5 separate regions of the Homo sapiens genome follow, and all the other regions are linked to region 3. The links are contacts of gene promoters, found by promoter capture Hi-C in human tissues and cell types (Jung and others, 2019). All regions are on one chromosome and are shown on one strand. Each heading gives the region's core, a stretch centred on a gene start or on the middle of the fragment in contact. The rest is flanking DNA. Distances are from core to core; before and after follow the strand shown.

Region 1 (2,700 bases), core at 143-2,642, 130 kb after region 3:
GTTCTACATTTTTTTGTTTGCTTTTGCTTTTGACATTTTAAAAACTTCTTATTGTTGAAAATGTCAAACACACAAAAGCAGAGGGCATAGTGTATTGAATATCATGTTCTTATCACTCAACTTCAACAGTTATTAACTCATGACCAATATTATTTCACCTGTAATCTCACCCACTCCCCCAACCATGGATCATTTTAAAGAAAATTATAGACATTGTACTATCTTTCCATCAAGATTTCAGTATGTATCTCTAAAAGACAGGGATTCTTTTTTAAAAAGATAACCACAATAATATTTTCTTACCTAAATACTTTTGTACCAACAATATCCAGGCAGTATTAAAATTCTGTAATTGCCTTATATTATTATTACTTTGAAAAAAACCTTTTTATTTGTTGAGTCAAGAGTCAAATGAAGTCCGTGAGTATAACTACTTGATTAGCACGCCAAGTTTTTCTTAGCCTATAGCTTCTTCATCCCTTTTTTCTCCCTCGAAGTTTAAGAAACTGGACTGCTTGTCCCATAATTGCCCACAGTCTGATTTTGCTTATTATGTCTTCCTGATGTTGTTTAACATGTTTTTTAAAAATTTTTTTATTTCTTATTAGTCAAATAAGTCTATGAGATTCAGGCTTACTTTTCTTTTTTGGGGTATGGGAGGGTATAAAGGGTAAGAATACTTCATAGGTAGGTATATAATGTCTGTACCTTTTTGTATGCATGTGATGTCAGTAACCATTTGAAGATCACTGCGTAGATTTATTCTTTCAGTGAGGGCTGCAAAATGGTGAGGATCTTATTCTGCCATTCCTTCATAAAGAGAAACTTCCCCTTATCATTTAACTTAAGTGCAATATACATAGAATGGCCAGACAAATGACTGATTCTTTACCTTTATTTACTGATTTTCAAAATAATTAGTTGGTTCTCAGCACCCTTCAAAGGTATTTATGAAAGTTTTGTTTTGCTTTAGTATTATTTTGAATTTATAGGGTTAAACATGCTTCAATCCATTCAATTATTATTCTTACTGATGCTCAAATTATCCTGCTTTTGGCTAGTGGAAGACTCTTTTATTATGACCCCAGAATCTTTGCTAATATCCTTTTCTGGTTGCGATAAGATATTCCAGGCTCATCTTAGAAGGTTTTTTGTTTTGTTTTGTTCTTGCCTCAAACCTGGAATCAGCTATTTCTCCTAGAAGCTCATTTCTTTTAGTGGAAAATTAGAAACTATACTCTGGTCCCTGGGATGTGCTTATTCCTACTGGATAGGTCACTGTTTTTAGATCTTTTTAGTGTACAGAACTAGGCAATGTATTGTTGTTGTCTTAAAGATAAAATGTATAAGGACTCCATTTTGACTCTTCCAATTCAAATTCAAGACTACGTAGCTTTCACTTAAAATCATGTATTTGTGTTTTCATTCATGCATGTGAAAAATCCTGACACCAGCATTGGAGATTCTTAAACTGGGATACATCATACGCACAGTAGTTTCTGGGAGGTAAAGCTTGGCATCTGCATTTTTAACAATTTCCACAGGTGATTCTGATACTCACCCAAGGATGAGAACCACTGATCTATTTTTTACGAACTATTTTATGTTATAGATACTTAAATGGAACCTCCCATTTTCTTCTTAGAATCCCCCTTTTCTTTGTTGATTGTCCACATTCTTTCTTCTTCTTCTTCTTCTTTTTTTTTTTTTTTTTTTTTTTTTGAGACAGAGTCTTGCTCTGTCACCCAGGCTGGACTGCAGTGGCATGATCTGGGTCACTGCAACCTCCACCTCCCAGGTTCATGCAATTCTCACGCCTCAGCCACCGGAGCAGCTGAGACTACAGGCGTGCACCACCACACCCTGCTACTTTTTTTATTTTTGGAAGAGATGGTGTTTTGCCATGTTGGCCAGGCTGGTCTAGAGCTCCTGACCTCAAGTAATTCACCTGCCTCAGCCTCCCAAAGTGCTGGGATTACAGGCATGAGCCAGTGCGCCTGGCCAAGGTTGACCATATTCTTGATGAGCCACCTGTGTACAATCTGAATTCTTTTCTTGTTTAACTCATTGGTCTGTGCATCTGACAGTAAAGTTGAGTTATTTCACTTCTGTGAAAGCCAGGCTGCAGTTATCTTTGACCGCTTGAAATGCTAAAATACAGGTGAACCTCACAACTAAGGCTCTGCCCAAGGCCAGAGAGAGAATCCTCCCTCATTGCTTTGAGCAGAATGCCTGGTACTGGAGTAGATTTGCTTAAAGGCAACTCTGCATTTGATAAAATATCAGAGCAATTTATGTCCTTGTACCCTTGTTCCTTTTCTTTCCTCTTAGGCAGAAATGTTAATTGACAATCAAAGGAGTAACAGGTGCATACCTGAATTCACAAGCCTTTGGGGCCCATCTTGAATACTTCTGCAGATCCAGGCCTGGTTTAGGTTATGCCTTCTTTCATCCATGCTCACCTGAGAGTTCCAGTGTTTTCCTTGTTCTTGTTTCTGCATTCAGAGTTCTAAAATTTGACTCTGGCTGGTCATTTTATCACTTCTCTCTCTTAGAGTAGACTATAGATCTATATCTGAACATTTAGCTTCTAATTGATTTGTATTGATAATAGGTGAAAAAGAAGTTAATTAGCCTGGAAATGACTACACCATAAGATCAGACTTTGGTTAAAAATTTAACCACATTAATTTTGATAAT
Region 2 (2,700 bases), core at 110-2,609, 150 kb after region 3:
ACTCAAAAAGCCTTTAGCATTTTCAGTCCAGAACACAAAGATAAGGAAATAATTCAAAAGTTATCTCAAGAGAAATCAAGTTCGCATGCACGCATATGTTCACTGCAGCACTATTCACAATAGCAAAGACATGGAATCAGCCTAAATGCCCATCAGTGGCAGATTGGATGAAGAAAATGTGGTACATATACACCGTGGAATACTATGGAGCTGTACTGCCTGGCCTGGAAATCTGGCTGTGACAGGCACTAGCTGAGTGAAACTTACCTCTGTCTTACCTCGACTGCAAGATGGGGATAATAATAATAATATCTATTTCATATGGCAGTGGTGAGGATTAAGCCAATTAGTGTAAAATACACAAAAATACTAAAAACAGTGCCCATCACTGTACAATGCTGTGTTTTTTCTACCTTCTCCTGCTCCTCCTCTTCTTCTTCCTAAGTCTTCTCTGTTGTTTTACTAAGAAACACATATTCTTTGAATATGGAAGAGAAAGGAATTTACTTTGCTCATCCTGTAATATTTTTCCTGGAGATGAGCTCTTAGCTGGCTTCTGGGAAAAGAAAATATTTCCTCTATTTTATCCAGCACTCTGCATAGCCTGTGACAGTTATATAAAAATATCAGTTTAGATGTGTTAGAGATTGTTTTAGAAGACTATTCCATGTAAGCCATGCATTGGTTCATTCATTCATTCTTGCACAAGTGCGTGAGGATTGCTTCTTAAATGCAGGGCACTATATCTGCATCAGATGGGGACTTAGAATCATCATTCCGTGCTGACAAGCCCTCTGCCAAAGGGATCAGTACTCCACTTTTGTATAGAACTGGGACAGACTTTCCGTCACAATTTTGTTATGAAACTGTCAGGTGAGATGTTGCACTGAATTCCCTTTAGTAGATTTATACAGTTTCAGAGATTTTGTTATGGTAACTTGGGGGCTTTTAATTTGATTTTATTGGATTCTTTTTTTAGACTCTTAAGGCAGTGGTGTTTTCATCACTACATCTGCACAATTTGTTATTGGCATTATTGGGAATTGCGGATGTAAAGCAGTCTATGACTTTTGGGAATATTAATAAACTCCTAAAGTACTTGTTCAATTAGCTTCTCTGACCTGCTGTCCAGAGGTTGAGCTGTCATTAACTGAGGAAGCTTCCTATGGTTTAAGTGGTGGTGAGGAAAACCATTGTCTTTCTTCCTCCTCATCTTTGTCTTGCCTACTTCATTCACTACTTTCTTGGGAGCAGTGCAGGAAGAGGCCGTCCAATTCCAGAGCTGCAGAGGGGCTCCTATGCCCTAGAGAATGAGAAAGAGCATGCTGGTTAGGTTTTATATTACTACTGTGCCTATTTTTGATTAAGAGAATGTTTTCTGTGTGTCCAGAGGTTTAAAAGATTAATAATTTATTTTACATATCTGGAGAATTGCTTCTCTCTGCCTCAAGCATTAGGGCCAGAGTTCTGTATTTTGTTTGCATACAATTTGAAGTGTTTTCTCTAGGTCTTATAGGGGAGAATCTGAAGACTTCATTGCTCGCTGATTTCAGTCTTACTGATGTTGGGCTCTTAGATCAGCTTGCTAGAATACAAAAATTATTCTTTTATCGTGACACCAAATTCTGTACCCTGGGACTCCAAGTGGCCATTGAAAGACTTGGGTTTAATGTTAGTGCCTCATGCTATCAACTGCCTATCTGTTGTGAAATTCTTTTGTTGTCAGATTTGTCGTTTCCTTTTCAGATAGTAGATCATCTGATTTAGAGCATGAAGGTACGTCTTCCTAAGTTTCTATGACAGAAAGATATTGAAGAAGAAGGAGAAAAGCCAAATACCAGAGACCAGACAAGGTGGCAGGAAATTGCAAACATGGTGGAATTTCCAGTCTTTTTCATTTTTTGAAGTCACAGATAATTTAAAAACTACTCGCTTTTACTTTTTTTTGTTTGTTTCCTTGCTTTTGCAACCATGTCTATCTGCCAACCTTTCTAAAATGTCATGATGTAATTATTTTAACAGGCACTGTATGCTCCTTTATTTGGGGGATATTAACCTTTCTAAACAAAAGGAATGTTAATATACACTGGAAACACAACTAATGGGATTTCATTTTTCTTGTTAGGCAAGAAGCTTGACTTTTTTTTTTTTTTTTTAACTTCTCGTAAAAGAATGCGGCAAGTGAAATAATTGCCTTAAGCTAATCCATGATAGCGATTTTAAACGTGACTTTCCAGATCACTTTTATATGGCTTAGAAAGAATAATGTGATTTTCTTGTTTTTGTTTGCTTTAGCTAAACAGTGTTGAAGGATGATATAAATTCAATGAATTCAAAACAAAGAAAATGCTAATTGCTAATGCGCTAAGTTCTTTTAAGGCATGAAATACAGTGTTTAATTCATAAGCATTGTTTCGTTTTATATAGATTTAATTTTTTTTTTTAGTTAGTATGGGACAAACTCAGAATAAATTAGCCAGCTAGCCATTTTCTTAATTATTGTGTATTCCTATTTGATGTTTAAATATATATGACCTAAATATGTTGTGGTTTTTATTAAAAAAAAAAAAAAGAAAAAAAGAATGGTCATAGGCTCTCAGATAGTGAGGCAAAGCACTTTTAGGATTTCTACAGGGCACCTCCTCTCTCCCTGGCTTTCCACCTCTCCCCTTCCCTGCCTTCTTCCCTCCTTCCCTTTAA
Region 3 (2,700 bases), core at 1-2,500:
AATTATTATAAACCTTTACACTTAATATGGCTCGTCCTTCAATTTGATGCTTGAGCAACAGAGGGTCAGAGCGCACACGATCTTCTAGAGGGGAAGAAAATAAGTAATTAAAAAGCAGACAAACAAGAGAGCCGGCTGCCTGGCTGAAAAGAAAGCAAAGAGAATTTCGGGGAGGGAGAGTGAGTCCGGAGATGCAAGTCGCTTTAGCAGGAGAGGCTCTCCCAGAGACAGGGGAAGCTCGGAGCACCTGTTGGTCCCCAGCTTCCTTAGGAAGGGCTGGGGGCGCAGAGGAGGAGTGAGAGGGTTTGAGCCCCGAAGGAGGAACACGGCAGACCCTGCCTTCACCACACTCCCTCTCCCCAACTCCCACCACCCCCGCTCTTCACCTGAAGCCTTGACTAATTTTTTCCGTTGTTGTGTAATCTTAAATATCTAATATTACAAATATTTCACACATATATTCAACACACACCTATATATTAAAACCAGGGAGGAGACCCTCGACAAGCGGAGGAGCCTGAGCATACCCTCCTCGATCTACCTTTCCCGAGATTCTGCCGCAAAAAGACCGACTGGAAAATCTCAGAACCCGACTCTACGGCTGCCTTCTCCAACTATCCCCGAGTCTACCGCTAGGCTGTTGAGCGGGCTCTCCCGCTCCGCCGGACGTGCAAAGCACGCATGCACTTCTCCCAGATTGTTTTGTCAATCCGGGGACCTGCCTTCTTACTCTCCACTCCCGCACAGCCCCCGTTCCCAAAGATCTATTCCTTCGGTGCAAGGTGAGTGACGGAAATTTGCAACGTCTGGTTCGCTAGGCCAGATGCACTCGGTGTGCGGGACAGAGGACCCTCTTAAGGGAGATTCTCCAGTCGTCGGTCTGATACAGCGATTGCTATAAACATTCCTAATAAAGGTGTACAAGAAGCTAGACCCGCCCCCTGGAGCCCGAGTCCTTGCACGCCAGGCGCCCGGGAGAACACTTTTTCCTTGATCCGGGGAAAGCAAAACCCGAATTTTAACATAAACATATTTGCATACGCCCCTCCCCTTGGCCCCGCCCCTAGGTGGCGCGGGCGCGCCGCCGAACGCCAGCGCCAGGGGGCGGGGTGGGGGAGGGAGCGAGGCCCTCCGAGAGCCGGGTTGGGCTCGCGGCGCTGTGATTGGTCTGCCCGGACTCCGCCTCCAGCGCATGTCATTAGCATCTCATTAGCTGTCCGCTCGGGCTCCGGAGGCAGCCAACGCCGCCAGTCTGAGGCAGGTGCCCGACATGGCGAGTGTAGTGCTGCCGAGCGGATCCCAGTGTGCGGCGGCAGCGGCGGCGGCGGCGCCTCCCGGGCTCCGGCTCCGGCTTCTGCTGTTGCTCTTCTCCGCCGCGGCACTGATCCCCACAGGTAGGTGTGGGCACCGACCGGTTGGCCCCTAAATCTCCGAAGGCACCCCAGTAGCCTTGGCCACAGAGGGGGGAAACGTTTCCATGACAACCTCCCCCCACTTCCTACATCCGAAGCGGAGGGAGTGTGGAGAGGAAACTCAGGGCTGAGAGGGAAGGGGCTGAGGGCATCTGTGAGCCCCTTCTCCCCTGCCCGGCTAAGTGTGAATGAGAGTCCCCAGGGATGGCTGCACCCACACCTTCTCTCCCCGGCTTGGCGCGGGGTGCAGAGTGGAGTGAGAATGGGGGGCCCGGGGGCTGTAAAGCATGGGGGAAGGGGATGGTTCAAAGACAACCTCAACCCTTCCGGACCCTTCTAAACTCGCCGTTCTCCCCGTAACTTGCAGGTCCTCCCACCTCCCAGGGCTGTCCATTCGCCCCCACCTCTCCAGAGGGCCCCCCCAGTTCTCCATCCCCGAAGCCTCCTGGTGGCTGACTCCCAGCCGCCCGCGGCGTGATTTCTCCCCGGTCCCCAGGACATCCCCAGACTTGTCTGATCTCCCCTGCCCCTTCCCCCAACGCGCTCTGCCTTTCTCCCCTGTCCCCAAACTGCACGCCTCTCGTGTTTCCCTCCGGCCGTTCGCAGCCCTCCGCCCCCTCGGCTCTGCTGCGGGTCTTTTTGGCCCGGCTCCAGGCGGGGAAAGTTCCCCGGCCCGGCCCCGCGGGGGGGGCGGCCGCTGTCGCCGCCTCTGCGGGAAGGCGCCGGGAGCCCGCAGCCCGCCCGCCCCACAGCGTCCTCTGCCACGAGTGGGGACACGGGATTTCCCGGCTGCCCGTTCTTTCGGCGGCCCGAGGGTGGCGGAGGGGGCGTCGCGGCCTCTGCGGCCAGGCGGGCACCCTGCGGGCCTCCGCGCGCTCCCTGCGTGAAGAGCAGTCTTGGGAATTTGCCCAGGGGCGGCTCTGCACGCCCGGTGCCTTCCCTGAAGACACCGAGCACTCGGCTGGAGCCCGATGTGTGGCTGCCCGTGTGCCGGGCGCGTTGGCGCGGTCGGGAAAGAAGAGGGCAGTGTTTGCTTTTGCTAACAAAAGGGAGCCGGAGCTCTTCCTCAGCGGAGAGGCCGGCTGTGCTGCACCCAGCCTCCCTTCCCGCCACCTCGCCGCGCTTGGCAGCCGCGCGGCGTCCTCTGGCCCCTGCTGCAGGCTCCAGGCGGGCGCCGGGACCGAGTGGCACGGGGCCGCGGGGTGCGAGCGGCGATGCAGGAGGGGATGCAGCAGGGCTCTGAGCCTGCAAAGCCCCTCCTTGCAGCTCCAGAGCTGCAGGACCCGGG
Region 4 (2,700 bases), core at 63-2,562, 220 kb after region 3:
AGTATGTAAACTTTCATGAATGTGCTTTATTCCTTTTTGAAAACTATCTTCCTCTTACGTTTTTCCTTTCTGTTTTTTTTTTTTAGACAAACCTTGTCTGACTGACTATAACCTTTAAATAATTGGTAAAGTAGAGCAGTGAAACTGACATGAAAATCTATTGAAAAGAAATGGAAGCCGGGAGCATTATTCTAGTAAAGGACTGGCTAGCCTATTGTTCCCTTCTCTTGTGCTGTGTGTGGGAATTATTTCTGCTGGCAACAGACAACATCGACAGTAGTAGTATTAAAATAATTCACATCTATTTTTGTTAGTAATAATGTAATACTGGATCATCTCTAGGCCACAAAATAATTGACCCATTTCTAGGAGCAGAAAGTCTTCAAACTACAAGTGCTTCTCTTGTCTGCCCACGTCTGCTTTCTCTGCCTCCTCACCATACACACACACACACACACACACACACACACACACACACACAGAGAGAGAGAGAGAGAGAGAGAGAGAGTGTCTGGGCTTGTAGATCTTCACCCTGGTTCTCACAGGCCCCCCTGCCTGGAACGCCACTTTCAGCCTCAATAATTTTACCATTTTTCAGGAGCAAGTCTAGGACCCGATCCCTTAAAGCTTTTCTTCACTTGTCCATTGCATTCAGTCCTATTCAAGAGACATTTGAGCACTGGAGATACCACGCTGAACAAGGTGGGCAAGCCTCTGTACTGAGACCTCACAGTGTAGTGGGGACTTGTAAGCAAGGCCAGGCCTTTACAGCAGCATGGTAGACACTACGACAGGTGGCACAGGGCCCTGTGGGAGCCTTGCCCAGACCTTGCCTAGTCTTCTGCACCGATCCCACTTTGCCCTGAATGTCTGGCGTGGCTTTAGTAGCTTCCAGGGAAGTTGGCATTTAATTTTTTGCTGCCTTGCATTGTTTTCTTTCTGTCTGTTATCTCCCTGGCTGGATGGTAACTACTTTGAGGATAATGGACTTCATTTTATTTTTATGCTGCCTTTTTAAACCCTATAGGGTCTTAAACAGCACTCAGTGGATGGTAAATACTCAGTAAACACTCACTGATTTGCTTAGACCCTCTTCCCTTCCCTCCACCTCTGTGGCTTTACACAGGGATGACTTCCCCTCACTGCGTTCCTTCCAATACCTTCTATAATTTGAAAATGGCTGGCCTCTGAACCTTGTTTGCTTAGGGGCAGTGAACTCCAGCTGATTATAGTCATTGTCTTCTGGCCCTGGGTTCTTGGGCAGCAACATGACTTCCTTCTACCAACCTATCCTTTCTTCCTCAGCTCCCATCGATTTAATTATACTTCAGGCTCTCCAGGCACAGATCTACCATCACCTCTTTTTGCGTAGCCTCTAAAATGCTTTCCTCTTTCAGGGACTGTTTTCCTAATGAGGGCAGAATATAATTTAGAGGCTTAATTTTAGAAAACTATATGAAGCAGCAGACCCATAAAATGTTATGATTCACAACCACTTGTTTTGTTCTCATAATGCAACCTAAACTAAAAAGCCATTCATCAAAGCTATAAAAGCTGTTCATGGCTGTCTTTAGTATATCGTGTGGAGCATAATTCAGCCCACAGAGAGGCTAAAGATGGATTCATGGGGCCATTTGCCTTGGTGTACGTTAAAGGCCAGTAATTTCTATGCTCTGTAGAATACTGTATTTTACTATAAACCCTGGATTTTTTCTTAACCCCACTTAGCTTTCGTTTCCATTTTAATATAAGCATGTCCCCATTTATAACCTCTTCCATCCCCTGTAAATAATTGCCAAGATCCTGACTGTTCCCTAATTCATAGTCCTTCTTGTCTCAGCTACTTTGACCATTTAAGGCGATTGGTGTATGAAGATGTGTTGACCAGAAACCCAAAATGCAGCCTCCATGGAGAGCTGCCTTGGTCATCTGTCTCCTCTAACAACACCCTAGGAGAACCATTGGTCCTCCCATCACAGCTCCCCAGAGAGCAAATTGCCAACACTTTCCTAGAAATGAATGAGGGAACAAAGCTGTGGGCATTCTGGGCTATGTTTTTATAGTGTTGTGATAAGAATGCACTGGTGATTGTGAACCCAAGTTGCTAACTATAGTGTCGTCAGAACTTAAGATGCCTCTTATATTGTGTTCATATTTAAATAATGAGGTCTGACCTTTACATTTACTCATAATCATGTATCTAGGTCATCACGTCACATTTTCAAAAGTACAAGATAATATCCTGGAAGCTAAAGGTTCCAGCCATAGGGTAGATGCAGCTGGGTTTGAATCCTGGCTTGGGTACCAGTTTGGCTGTGCTTCCTTAAGCATGTTACATAACCACTCATTTTCTTCATCTGCAAAATAAGATTACTCACTGAACCTATCCCATAGGATTACTGTGACGATAGCAAAAAGATAATCCATATAAGACATCACCATAGTACTTGGTTCATGGTAATCAGCATTACTTATTCAGTAATTCTTCTTTTTATTAAGAGTCTACCAAAAAAAATAATAAAGCAAGGAACTGGAAGGATCTTATTAAATCTAGACAAACATTTTCAATAAAACTCTAAGATGGATGGCTTGTGTGTCTTTGATACATGTTTTACTTTGTAGAGCTAGTTTAAATTGTGTTGTAAACAGAAGGACACCTAACAAAAAATGAACCAGTTATTTATTTAACCTCATGATTAA
Region 5 (2,700 bases), core at 176-2,675, 200 kb before region 3:
AGTGCCAACCCTGGAGAAACCTGCACCTCTACAACCCCAGGCCAGGATGGAAACACCCAGGGTCGACCACAGCCTGACCCCGGGGATCTGCCCACATAAGGTCTCCAGCTAGTGTTGCAGCCCGAGGTCTACCCTCCCATCCAACGCATCACTGCCACCACATTACCACCGAGGCACTTGCTGGTACAGCTGGTGGGTGAACTCTTTATCACTGCATGTGGTGGGCTCACCCATAGCTGCCTCTTGGTAAACTTGGTGTGGCTGAGGCACAGCCCTTAGTCACTGAGGACTTACTTCTGCCCAAAGTCTCCTTCGACCACCCCAGTCCTCCCCACCCACTGGAGCCAGGAATTCCCTCTCTGAAGGGCCAAGTGAGACTCAAAGGAGAAGTCAGTTCCCAAGCCACCTAGCCAATAGCAGGGTTGGAACTTGCCATCAGAGCCTCAGCCACAGAGAAAGGAAGCTGCCAAGAAGCTGGACCCCAGTGGGCAACGGAGCCTCGTAGCTGCCCCCAGCTGTGCGGCACCCCAAACCCCCATGCAGCCCTGCAACAATGCCTGAACTAATTCTATCCCATTCTCCTTTAAAAAAGAAAACCCTGGAAATAATTACTTCAGTCAGACATTATTTACTTAAGTAATTCTTTACTCAAACGTCTTTAGGCTTTATTTTACTAATACTACATAATTACGTAATTGTGTAATTAGGAAGAAATTAAATGACAAATGTTTGCTGAGAACAAATTGAAAAAAATAGATCCTTTATTTCCCTGAGTGTTCTCAGTTCAGTACATGACATCTTCTTCCCCCTCCTCCCGTTCTTCCCTCTGGTCTCCCCACCCTCTGAGGTCTCCCCACAGGGGGCATCTCGAGGGCTGACTCCCTGGACAAGTAACAGCAGGTGTGGCATCTTGAGCCTGAGGTAGATCTGAAATGTCTGTCAGCTAACCTGTGTGTCTCTCTATACTGCCTGACCTCCTCCTAGGTTGGGCACTGGAGTCAAGCTTTCTCTGGTTTGCTCTTTCTGTCTCTAAGAAGCCTGGGAGACCCATGAACTCCAACCCACAGCCATCCTAGGAAAGTGAGTACAGCAGCTAGCTAGCCCTAAGGACTATCTTCCCGTGGGCACTGGCCTATTCAGCATGTTCTGCAGACGTGCTTTCAGAGGCTGCCAGGTCCTCAGGCTGAAAGAAAAGAATGAGGGGTCCACCAGGTTGAAAGGGAGTTCAGTGTGGATCTGCTTCACCAACTTCACAGGAATCCATAGCGTCTGCCCCAAAAATCTACCCAAGAAGGAGGCACAGCATGCACCCCAGGACTAAGCTGCCGATGGAGAGGAACCTGTTCACATAGACCACCACGCCTCCCTCCCTCCTTCCTTTCTCCAACCTCAGAAGCTGTGGAAGCCAGTGGAGCTTCCTGTGGGTAAAAAATTCAATCAATCAACCACCCACCCAACACCCATGGAGCATGTCTTTTGTTCAAGTTCTGAGGGGGACACAAAAGAGCAGGCAGGCCACAGCTATGCTCATTAATACGTCAGCTGCTTGGAACTTGGCATGTAGAGCTGTGTTATTCACAGCAGAAAGTTTCCTAGGCCAGCCTGCCAAAAAAAAAAAAAAAAAAAAAAAATCACTACTAAATGTCCCCGGCATTCAGTACCAGAAAGGAAGAGTACTCTTGGGCACTCAAGACTGCTGAAGCTCACATCCTGTCTCCAACACTTGCAGGCTGTGGGCCTGGATGAGTGACTCCATCTTGCTATGCCTCCATTTTCTTGTCAGTAAAATGCGAACCATGAACATGCTACCAGATTCTTGTGAGGATTAAATGAATCTGTGCAGTGAGACACTCAGAAGAGCACCAAGTGTTCAATAAACAGCAATGATGGTCTTCAACGTGTCACTGCAAAAGCCAAGCCATACAGAATAGAAGGGTGCTGTGGGAAAGCGCCCCTGCCAGGAGGATGGCCAGTGCTGGAGGCTCCTCCCCACCTTCACCAGCCCCAACTGACTGTGACTTCGGAGCTCAGGGTAGGGCTGGCAGACGAAGAGTCTGGGAAAGACAAGAAAAGCAAAGGGACACCATGCCCAGGGGAAGGGGCATGGAGCCATGGGAGAGGGACTTCCTGAGACTGAACTGCCCAGAGAAACTTCTACTAGGGGCTTTTCACTTCGGGGGCCAATTGTAGAAAAGAACACAGTGTCCCCAGTCTGACAAACTTGAAAATACTTTCTGAAAAGGGAACGAGTATACACTGTTGGTGGGGATGCAAATTAGCTCAGCCCCTGTGGAAAGCAGTTTGGAGATCTCTCAAAGAACTAAAAATAGAATTACCATTTCACCTAGCAAGCGAACTGGGTCTATAACCAAAGGAATAGAAATTACTGGGTATATACCCAAATAAATAGGAATCGTTCTGCCAAAAAGACACCTGCGCTTGTATATTCATGGCAGCACATTCACAATAGGAAAGATGTGGAATCAACCCAGTTGCCCGTTAACAATGGATTGGATAAAGAAAATGTGGTACATCTACACCATGGAATACTACACAGCTATTAAAAAGAAGGAAATTAGATCCTTTGCAGCAACATGGATGCAGCTGGAGGTCACTCTCCGAAGTGAATTAACATAGAAACAGAAAACCAGATACCACATGTTCTCTCTTGTAACTGGGAGCTAAACATTGTGTACACAT

What was found. The method cuts DNA at HindIII sites, captures the fragments that hold promoters and counts their contacts. A contact is called where the count stands out against the background at its distance.
Region 1: a fragment that was not itself captured here is called in contact with the fragment with the promoter of CADM1 in region 3 in 1 of the 25 tissues and cell types used here (H1 embryonic stem cells).
Region 2: a contact is called between a fragment that was not itself captured here and the fragment with the promoter of CADM1 in region 3, in 4 of the 25 tissues and cell types used here (IMR-90 fibroblasts, bladder, dorsolateral prefrontal cortex and 1 more).
Region 4: a fragment that was not itself captured here is called in contact with the fragment with the promoter of CADM1 in region 3 in 1 of the 25 tissues and cell types used here (heart left ventricle).
Region 5: a fragment that was not itself captured here is called in contact with the fragment with the promoter of CADM1 in region 3 in 1 of the 25 tissues and cell types used here (heart right ventricle).

The regions. Positions count from the first base shown.
Region 1 is chr11:115,372,606-115,375,305 of GRCh38, reverse strand. All of the region lies in intron 1 of CADM1 (cell adhesion molecule 1), which reads left to right. Among named protein-coding and RNA genes, the nearest start is that of CADM1-AS1, 23 kb to the left of the region's middle. The HindIII fragment of the contact is 3,741 bases long and covers 1-2,700 here.
Region 2 is chr11:115,350,382-115,353,081 of GRCh38, reverse strand. All of the region lies in intron 1 of CADM1 (cell adhesion molecule 1), which reads left to right. Among named protein-coding and RNA genes, the nearest start is that of CADM1-AS1, 45 kb to the left of the region's middle. The HindIII fragment of the contact is 3,162 bases long and covers 1-2,700 here.
Region 3 is chr11:115,502,965-115,505,664 of GRCh38, reverse strand. CADM1 (cell adhesion molecule 1) reads left to right here and starts at 1,250. Exons shown (of 12, transcript NM_001301043.2): 1 at 1,250-1,394. The coding sequence starts at 1,271. RefSeq lists a silencer at 1,065-1,224. The HindIII fragment of the contact is 7,329 bases long and covers 1-2,700 here.
Region 4 is chr11:115,281,896-115,284,595 of GRCh38, reverse strand. All of the region lies in intron 1 of CADM1 (cell adhesion molecule 1), which reads left to right. Among named protein-coding and RNA genes, the nearest start is that of CADM1-AS1, 110 kb to the left of the region's middle. The HindIII fragment of the contact is 6,448 bases long and covers 1-2,700 here.
Region 5 is chr11:115,698,829-115,701,528 of GRCh38, reverse strand. All of the region lies in intron 2 of LINC02698 (long intergenic non-protein coding RNA 2698), which reads right to left. Among named protein-coding and RNA genes, the nearest start is that of LINC02698, 41 kb to the right of the region's middle. The HindIII fragment of the contact is 4,913 bases long and covers 1-2,700 here.